Linked DNA regions of Homo sapiens: region 2 is linked to region 1. Evidence: promoter capture Hi-C in 16 types of primary human blood cells and fetal thymus (Javierre and others, 2016). All regions are on one chromosome and are shown on one strand. The core of a region is centred on a gene start or on the middle of the fragment in contact, and the rest is flanking DNA. Distances in the headings are between cores, read along the strand shown.

Region 1 (3,621 bases), core at 712-3,211:
TATGCATCCCCACCTAGATCTCTCATCAACAATAACACTGAACCCTCCTCTCTTTCCACAAATTGACACAGATATAAAAATCTGCTCTGGCCAGGTACAGTGGCTCACGCCTCTAATCCCAGGACTTTGGGATGTTGAGGCAAGAGGATTGCTTGAGCCCAGGAGCTCGAGACCAGCCTAGGCCATATAGCAAGACCCTGTTTCTACAAGACGTTTTATTTTATATCTTATCTTATCTTATCTTATCTTATCTTATCTTATCTTATCTTATTTTTGAGACAGAGTTTCACTCTTGTTGCCCAGGCTGGAGTGCAATGGTACAATCTTGCTCACCACAACCTCTGCCTCCTGGGTTTAAGTGATTCTCCTGCCTCAGCCTCCTGAGTAGCTGGCGCCTGCCACCACACCGGGCTAATTTTTGTATTTTTAGTAGAGACAGGGTTTTGCCATGTTGGCCAGGCTGGTCTTGAACCTCTGACCTCAGGTGATCCACCCGCCTCGGCCTCCCAAAGTGCTGGGATTACAGGCGTGAGCCACTGTGCCCGGCCTCTACAAGAAATTTTTAAAATTTAGCCAGGCGTGGGGGTGCACATCTGTACTCCAAGCTACTCGGGAGGCTGAAGTGGGAGGATCTCCTGAGCCCAGGAGTTGGAGGCTGCAGTGAGCAGTGATCGCACCACTGCATTCCAGCCTGGGTGACAGAGTGAGACCCTGACTCTAAAAATATAAATAAATAAATAAATAAATAAGTAATAAAAATATATAAAAAGGGCCAGGCGCGGTGGCTCATGACTGTAATCCCAGCACTTTGGGAGGCCAAGGCGGACAGATCACGAGGTCTGGAGATTGAGACCATCTTGACCAACATGGTGAAACCCCATCTCTACTAAAATACAATAAATAAATAAATAAATAAATAAATAAATAAATAAAAAGTAAAATAAAAATCTGCTCTTAACACACCTCCCCAAAATAACCAGACAGGCAGATGTGGTCAAACATACCTGAGGGTGAGTCCTGGAGCTCCCTGTGTCAACTCAAGCAAGCCACTTAGCAATTCTGGGCCTCAGTTTCCCCATCTGGAAAAGGGAGGTCCTCAGGGTGTTGCCATCAAAAGATGGTTGTAATGTTTCAATATAGTTCCGCATATTACACATTCAGCACAGACCCTGATTCAGGCACACACAAAAAGAACAAATATGACCAAAACAAGAATAACATAATTGTTATTAGTTTCATCGTGGTGATGGCCTCTTTCAGGCCACAATTCTCCTCTCCCACATTTACCCCCATGAGTGACCTCAGTCCCTGTTGACTCCCCAAAGCCTAGGAGAGTTTATGTCCAGCTCCATCCCCCCAATCCAGGGCCTGAGCCTCCTGAGGGCGCCAGTATGGAAGTGGAGGGGCTGTCACTTCCACCCATGTTGCTGGTTTCCTCATCTGGAAAATGGGCATGTAACAGTGTCTACCTCAAAAGGCTGCTGGGAGGATTTAACGCGAGGAGGCAGAGAAAGTGCCTGGTATACAGTAAGCGCTTAATTAGCCTTTGCCATTAATACCTATTCATGTTATAGATGAGATCCCGGGGATGGGGCTTTCGCGGAGCCTACTTCCTCCTTCCTCCTTTCTCGTCCCCACTGGACCCAGACCCAGCTTTGAAGACAGGGTCGGAGTGAAGTTTGCAACTGGGAAGGCTGCACGCCCCCATGTCCTCCCCCCAAAACCTCTAAACCCGGCCGGCAACGGCGGGAACTGGGATGTGCACCCACCGGGCATCGGAGCAGTCCCGAGGCACCAGGTGCTCCCATCCAAGTGCAGCCTGTCAAGCGCAGCCAGTCCCCGCGGCTTCTTCCTGAGGACCTCCGGCCGCGCTCCTTCCGCGCCCGCGTCCAGACTCACCCTTCCGGGGGAACACAAGCTCGAACCCGGACCCCTCCCCGCTCCCGCGGGTAGCTACTGCTTGTCCCCCGCCGAGACGCCTCCTCCCATTGGCCGCCTGAAACGCACACGCCCATTGGCAGCTGCTCTGTTCTCCCTGCTCGTCACCATTGGATTTTTTTTTTTTTGCCATGGTGGCGGCACTCTCATTGGTCCTGGGGCTCATTCGTCACTCAGCCGCGATTGGCTGAGTCGGCACCCAGATGCGCTGTCGCTTCTGCTATTGGCTGGCACTCGGTGGACGGAGACGGGGGAGGGGCTTGCGAGAGGCGGGAGGGAGAGCGAAGTGTGTGGGCAACGCGGCCGGATCCTGGAGTTCCCCTCCGTGCTGTGGAATTGGGTCAGGCGTGTACGGTCCTGACCCTAGGACACAGCTGCATGTCCTCACCTCGGTGTTCAAAGCTGCACCGGCCACCATTCAACCCTCCGACGCCCTGCCCTTTGGCTTCCCCGTTCCATCCGGTCCTGTCTCCTTTCCCTCGTTTCTACCTGGCCGACTCCATCCTGCTGACTAGAATTCCCCCTCCTTCACTCCTGGGAGGCATTCCTCGCCCACCTGCCCCAGTCCTCTTCCTGATCACCTGCAGCCCTGTCCTCTGAAGCTCCCTAGCGGTCAGGGTAGCAGCTTGGACATCCCGCCAGACGTGAATTCAAATCCCCACTCCGCAAGTCGTGCCCATTTGCTGAGAAGCCTACAGCCAGAGCGTTTCACATACATTATCTCATTTGATCCTAGCAGCAATTCCCTGTATGGCGGCTCTTATTATCCCCATTTCACAGAGGAAGAAACTCAGGCATGAAGAGGTAACAAAGACCGTCCTCTGACCCTTCTTCTGTGCCACACCATAACCACTCCTCGACTTTGTCTTTCACCTGCCCAGCCAAGTCTTAGCAAAGAAGCCTATTAAGTCATCCGCTCATCCTTGATGTCTGATCAACTTCCTCATCTTCCACTTTTTTTTTTTTTTTTTTTTAAGATGGAGTTTCGCTCTTGTCGCCCAGGCTGGAGTGCAATGCTGCGATCTCGGCTCACTGCAACCTCAGACTCCCGGATTCAAGCGATTCTCCTGCCTCAGCCTCCTGGGTAGCTGGGACAACAGGCGCCCGCCACCACGCCCGGCTAATTTTTGTATTTTTAGTAGAGATGGGATTTCACCATCTTGGCCAGGCTGGTCTCGAACTCCTGACCTCGTGATCCACCCTCCCAAAGCGCTGGGATTACAGGCGTGAGCCACCGCACCCGGCCCTTTTGTTGTTAATTTTTAAATTTTGTGGCTAATTTTTAAATTTTTGTAGAGATGGGGTCTGGCTATGTTGCCCAGGCTGGTCTTGAACTTCTGGCCTCAAGCAATCATCCTGCCTTGGCTTTCCAAAGTGCTGGGATTACAGATGTGAGCTAAGACACCCAGCTCCATGGAGTTGGTCTTAACTGCCATGGCCAAGGGACATGTGGCTGCTTCTCTCTGAGTCAGAAAATATGGGTAAAAAGCCTCCTCACAGGGCAGCTGTGGACATTCAGTATGAAAATGCTGAAAGAGATCGGGAATGGTCTCTTTCACACCTGTAATCCCAGCACTTTGGGAGGTGGAGGCGGGCGGATCACCTGAGGTCAGGAGTTCAAGACCAGACTGGCCAACATGGTGAAACCCTGTCTCTACTAAAAATGCAAAAATTAGCTGGGCA
Region 2 (3,621 bases), core at 577-3,076, 240 kb before region 1:
CAGTAGCACCCAGGCCGGGTCACCGTCGGGGACAGGGAGGGAAATGGCACTGTGACAGCATACGGCCATGGCCTTGGCCTATGAGCTTGTCCCGTGGACGTGGAGGGGCAGGAGGCAGAGGCCAGGTGCCTGGGGTCCTGGGGTGCTGTCCCCCACTTGGCTAAACCCACACTTCCACCTAGTTAGGCCGCCAAGTACAGGGCCTGACCCAGGCCCTCGGATGCCCCCTCCCCACCTACCTGCTTGCCCATGGGCTCGGGGTTGGTGACGGTTGTGCTGAAGAAGCCGTCCCACTCGAGCCTTCCATAGAGGCCAGCCCAGTGGTTGTGCCGGTTCCCGGTGTGGGGCAGGCACCAGGGGATGAGGGTGTTGAACTGCCTGGCTGCGGGGTCGCAGGCTTTGCCGGCTGGAAGACAGGACAGTGATGAGGCTGCAGTTGTGGGATGGGGTATAGGCTTGGGACAGTGGCTCTTAGAGCTTTGGGAGGCAGAGATGGCACCTCCTGTGCAAGGGGCCCCCTGGGGTGGAGCAGCCAACAATCCTCGTTCTCTGGGCACTGTTTTTATTATTAGTATTATATGTCTCGCTCTGTTGCCCAGGCTGGAGTGCAATGGCATGATCTTGGCTCACTGCAACCTCTGCCTATGGGGTTCAAGCGATTCTCCTGCCTCAGCCTCCCAAATAGCTGGGATTATAGGCGTGCGACACCACGCCCGGCTAATTTTTGTAGTTTTAATAGAGATGGGGTTTCACCATGTTGGGCAGGCTGATCTCGAGCTCCTGATCTCAAGTGATCTGCCTGCCTTGGCCTCCCAAAGTGCTGGGATTACAGAGGTGAGCCATCGTGCCTGACCTGCTTTTATTATTTATTTATTGTTTTTTTTTTTTCTTTTTAGAGACAGGGTCTCACTCTGTCTCCCAGGCTGGAGTGCAATGGCACAATCACAGCTCACTGTAGCCTCCTCAACCTCCCAGGCTCAAGTGATCCTCCCGCCTTGGTTTCCCAAAGTGCTGGGATTATAGGTGTGGGCCATGAACCCAGCCTGCTTTTACTACTCAACATGGTCAGCAGCTACCTTCTCTGGGACACCCAGGCTTGGTGTGTCTGTGCCCTGCCCTGGCCTCCAGGTTCACAGGCCAAAGGCCCAGGGCTCTGCCTTCCTTCCCCTCAGCCCACCGGGAACCACAACTTACAGGACCCACCTTCCACGCAGGAGCAGACCCCACGGAGGGCCCCAGAGCTGCTGCGGCCGTTCTTCCTGTCATGGTGGGTATACCGCAGCTTCCTGGCCATGGTGCCGTCTGAGAGCCGCACCTCGATGTTGGGCAGATCGCGCCAGTCTGACCCTGGGGCCAAGGGGATGTGCCGCATGCGGGCAGCCACCAATGCACTCATGTCCTGAAAGAGTGTGGGGGGCCCAGCTGTCACCTCATGTGAGCAGCATCCGAGCATCCATGGTGGGCTGGGAGCTGGGAACACCATGGTGACCAGGAAGCCCCCTGGGGCTCACGCCCATCGGGAAAGAGACAGTCAGGGATATCGCACTTGGCTCGAGGCCACGGCAGGGACCTGAGGCAGCGCAGGTGTAGGAGAGCGTGGGAATCTAAGCTGAGCCTTTAGGGTGGGGGAAGGGGAGTGGTGCCAGGGGATGGTGAAAGGGCTGGTCTTGGCATCCTGGGAAAACATGCGGGGAGAGGCAGCAAGGGGGAAGGCAGTGGTGGGTGGGCAGTGGCTTGACACCATTCCAGACCAAGTCCAGGACTGCGGGAGCTCTGACACTTCCCATGACCATGCAAGAGAGACCAGGGGTCACACAAAGGCTGAGGACTCGGGAGGAGGAGCCTGGGATCAGATTCCATGTCTCCCCTGAGTCTTGGGCAGGCTGACTGTTCCCACGAGGCTGCTGGGCTGGGCCTCGAGGAGGAGCCGCTCTGTCAGGGTGCCATTACCTTACAGATGTGGTCCCTGAGGATGGGCTGGTACTGTGCGCCCCGGAGCTGCCTCTGGAACCAGGACTGAGGCTCCCCGTTGTAGGAGATCTCCAGTGCCGAGGCTCCATTCCGCACCTCCGGCAGGTCGGACATCGTGTCTCGCACCGTGATGGTCCGGAAAGGACCCGAGCTCAACCTGCAACAGAGGAGGAGGTCAACACCTCTGGAGATGCACGCAGCAGCTGTCCCCTCATCACAGGTGCCACCCCCTGCCTGCTCAGATGGCCTTCTCCCGAGATCACAGCACTGCCCGAGGTCACATGGGTGGCAGTGTGCCTGGATGCCATCTGGAAGGGGGGATGGGGCTATGGCGTGGGCTTTGTGGATGACCACAGCCAAGCATGCGGCTGGCCGCTCTGCACATGCTATCTACTAGGGAAGCAGATGATGCAGGGTCAGAACTGGAGACCACAGGTGGCAGAGTGCCATGTGGCAGAGCACCGTGTGGCAGGGCAGATGCTGTACCATCCTCTCCTCCCCAAGCCTCACCAGGGAGTACTCACGGGCCCCATGAGCTACTGAGGCCTGCTCGGCAGTGTGTGGAGGAGCGACGGGGGCCACCTACCTGGTTATGTTGCTCACAAACTTCTTGTCATCCACCACCACGCTCAGCTGGCAGGCCCGGGGAGCAAACACGTGCAGTGGCTCCGGGAACAGAGGGAGCTTCTCTCCAGGGGCCGCGGCCAGGATGATGGCCCGCCTCCTAGTCTGGGCCACGCCGTACTGACCGGCCTGTGGGGGAGAAGGACGGACAACCCCACCGTCAGTGGGACACTCCCAACTGGACTGGCCAGACCCAGGCCCAGGGTCAGCAGCCTGAGTCGGGAGTGGCTGGCCAATGCGGAGTGCACTTGCAGAAATCCCCAGTTACCTCAGCAGGCGTGCTCCTGGTCAGAGGAGTTTGGAGCAGATAAAGAACAAAAGCAGCTGAGCCCAGGGGACAGCCACTGGGGAAGGTGGGAGCAAACCCTGCGGGGAAGTCCGGCCAGCTCTGAAAGCACTGCAAGGGCCCCAAGGTCTTAGCACTCGGGGAGAACACTGGAGACCAGGAGCCCTGTCGCTTCCCTGATGGCTGTGGTCACAAGGACAGAGAACGTGGCTGCAACAAGTCTTGTCTGGTGAGCCTGAGTCGCCCTGAGGCTGAGCTAGGGGACCGGGTAGCCAAGTGCTTGCCCACTTAGGCAGACATCCTGTGCTAGCATCTGGATAGCTGTTTCATTTTTAATTATGCCCTCAATTGCTGAGCTGATACAGAGAGGATGGGGGATGCTTTTCAGATAAGGCCTGGGCCCCACAGACTATGTCCATCCCTGTCCCTGCAGACACAGCCACCTGGAGTGCAACCCTCGGCCATCTGTGGGGGTTTGTGTGCGCAGTTACCCAGAGCAAAACTGTCTTTTAAACCAATCGAACAGCTGCCGCCTACACATGGCTCTGCGCACCTCACTTCCCCTCCCGCTCTGTGCAGACTCAGCCATTCCACAGTGCTCCATGGTGGGCTGCTCACCCTTCCCCATCGAGGGAAAGGAGCCAGGAGCTGCATGGCGAGAAGCCCATTGTAGCCAGCCCTCCCAGGCATGTTCGAGAACACAGCTCAAGAGACACTAGCGGTGGACTTGCTGGGGGCCG

What was found. Contacts are between HindIII fragments. The CHiCAGO score rates a contact against its expected background, and 5 or more counts as called.
Region 2: a fragment that was not itself captured here is called in contact with the fragment with the promoter of TYK2 in region 1 in 2 of 17 cell types (erythroblasts and total CD8 T cells); the score reaches 6.2 in erythroblasts.

What each region holds. Positions count from the first base shown.
Region 1 is chr19:10,378,611-10,382,231 of GRCh38, forward strand. TYK2 (tyrosine kinase 2) reads right to left here and starts at 1,962. Exons shown (of 25, transcript NM_003331.5): 1 at 1,770-1,962; 2 at 1,005-1,169. RefSeq lists enhancers at 1,860-2,019, 1,928-2,591. The HindIII fragment of the contact is 15,548 bases long and covers 1-3,621 here.
Region 2 is chr19:10,135,882-10,139,502 of GRCh38, forward strand. It overlaps DNMT1 (DNA methyltransferase 1), which reads right to left. Exons shown (of 41, transcript NM_001130823.3): 35 at 2,558-2,724; 36 at 1,951-2,128; 37 at 1,204-1,399; 38 at 240-406. Among named protein-coding and RNA genes, the nearest start is that of EIF3G, 18 kb to the left of the region's middle. RefSeq lists an enhancer at 1-759. The HindIII fragment of the contact is 6,913 bases long and covers 1-3,621 here.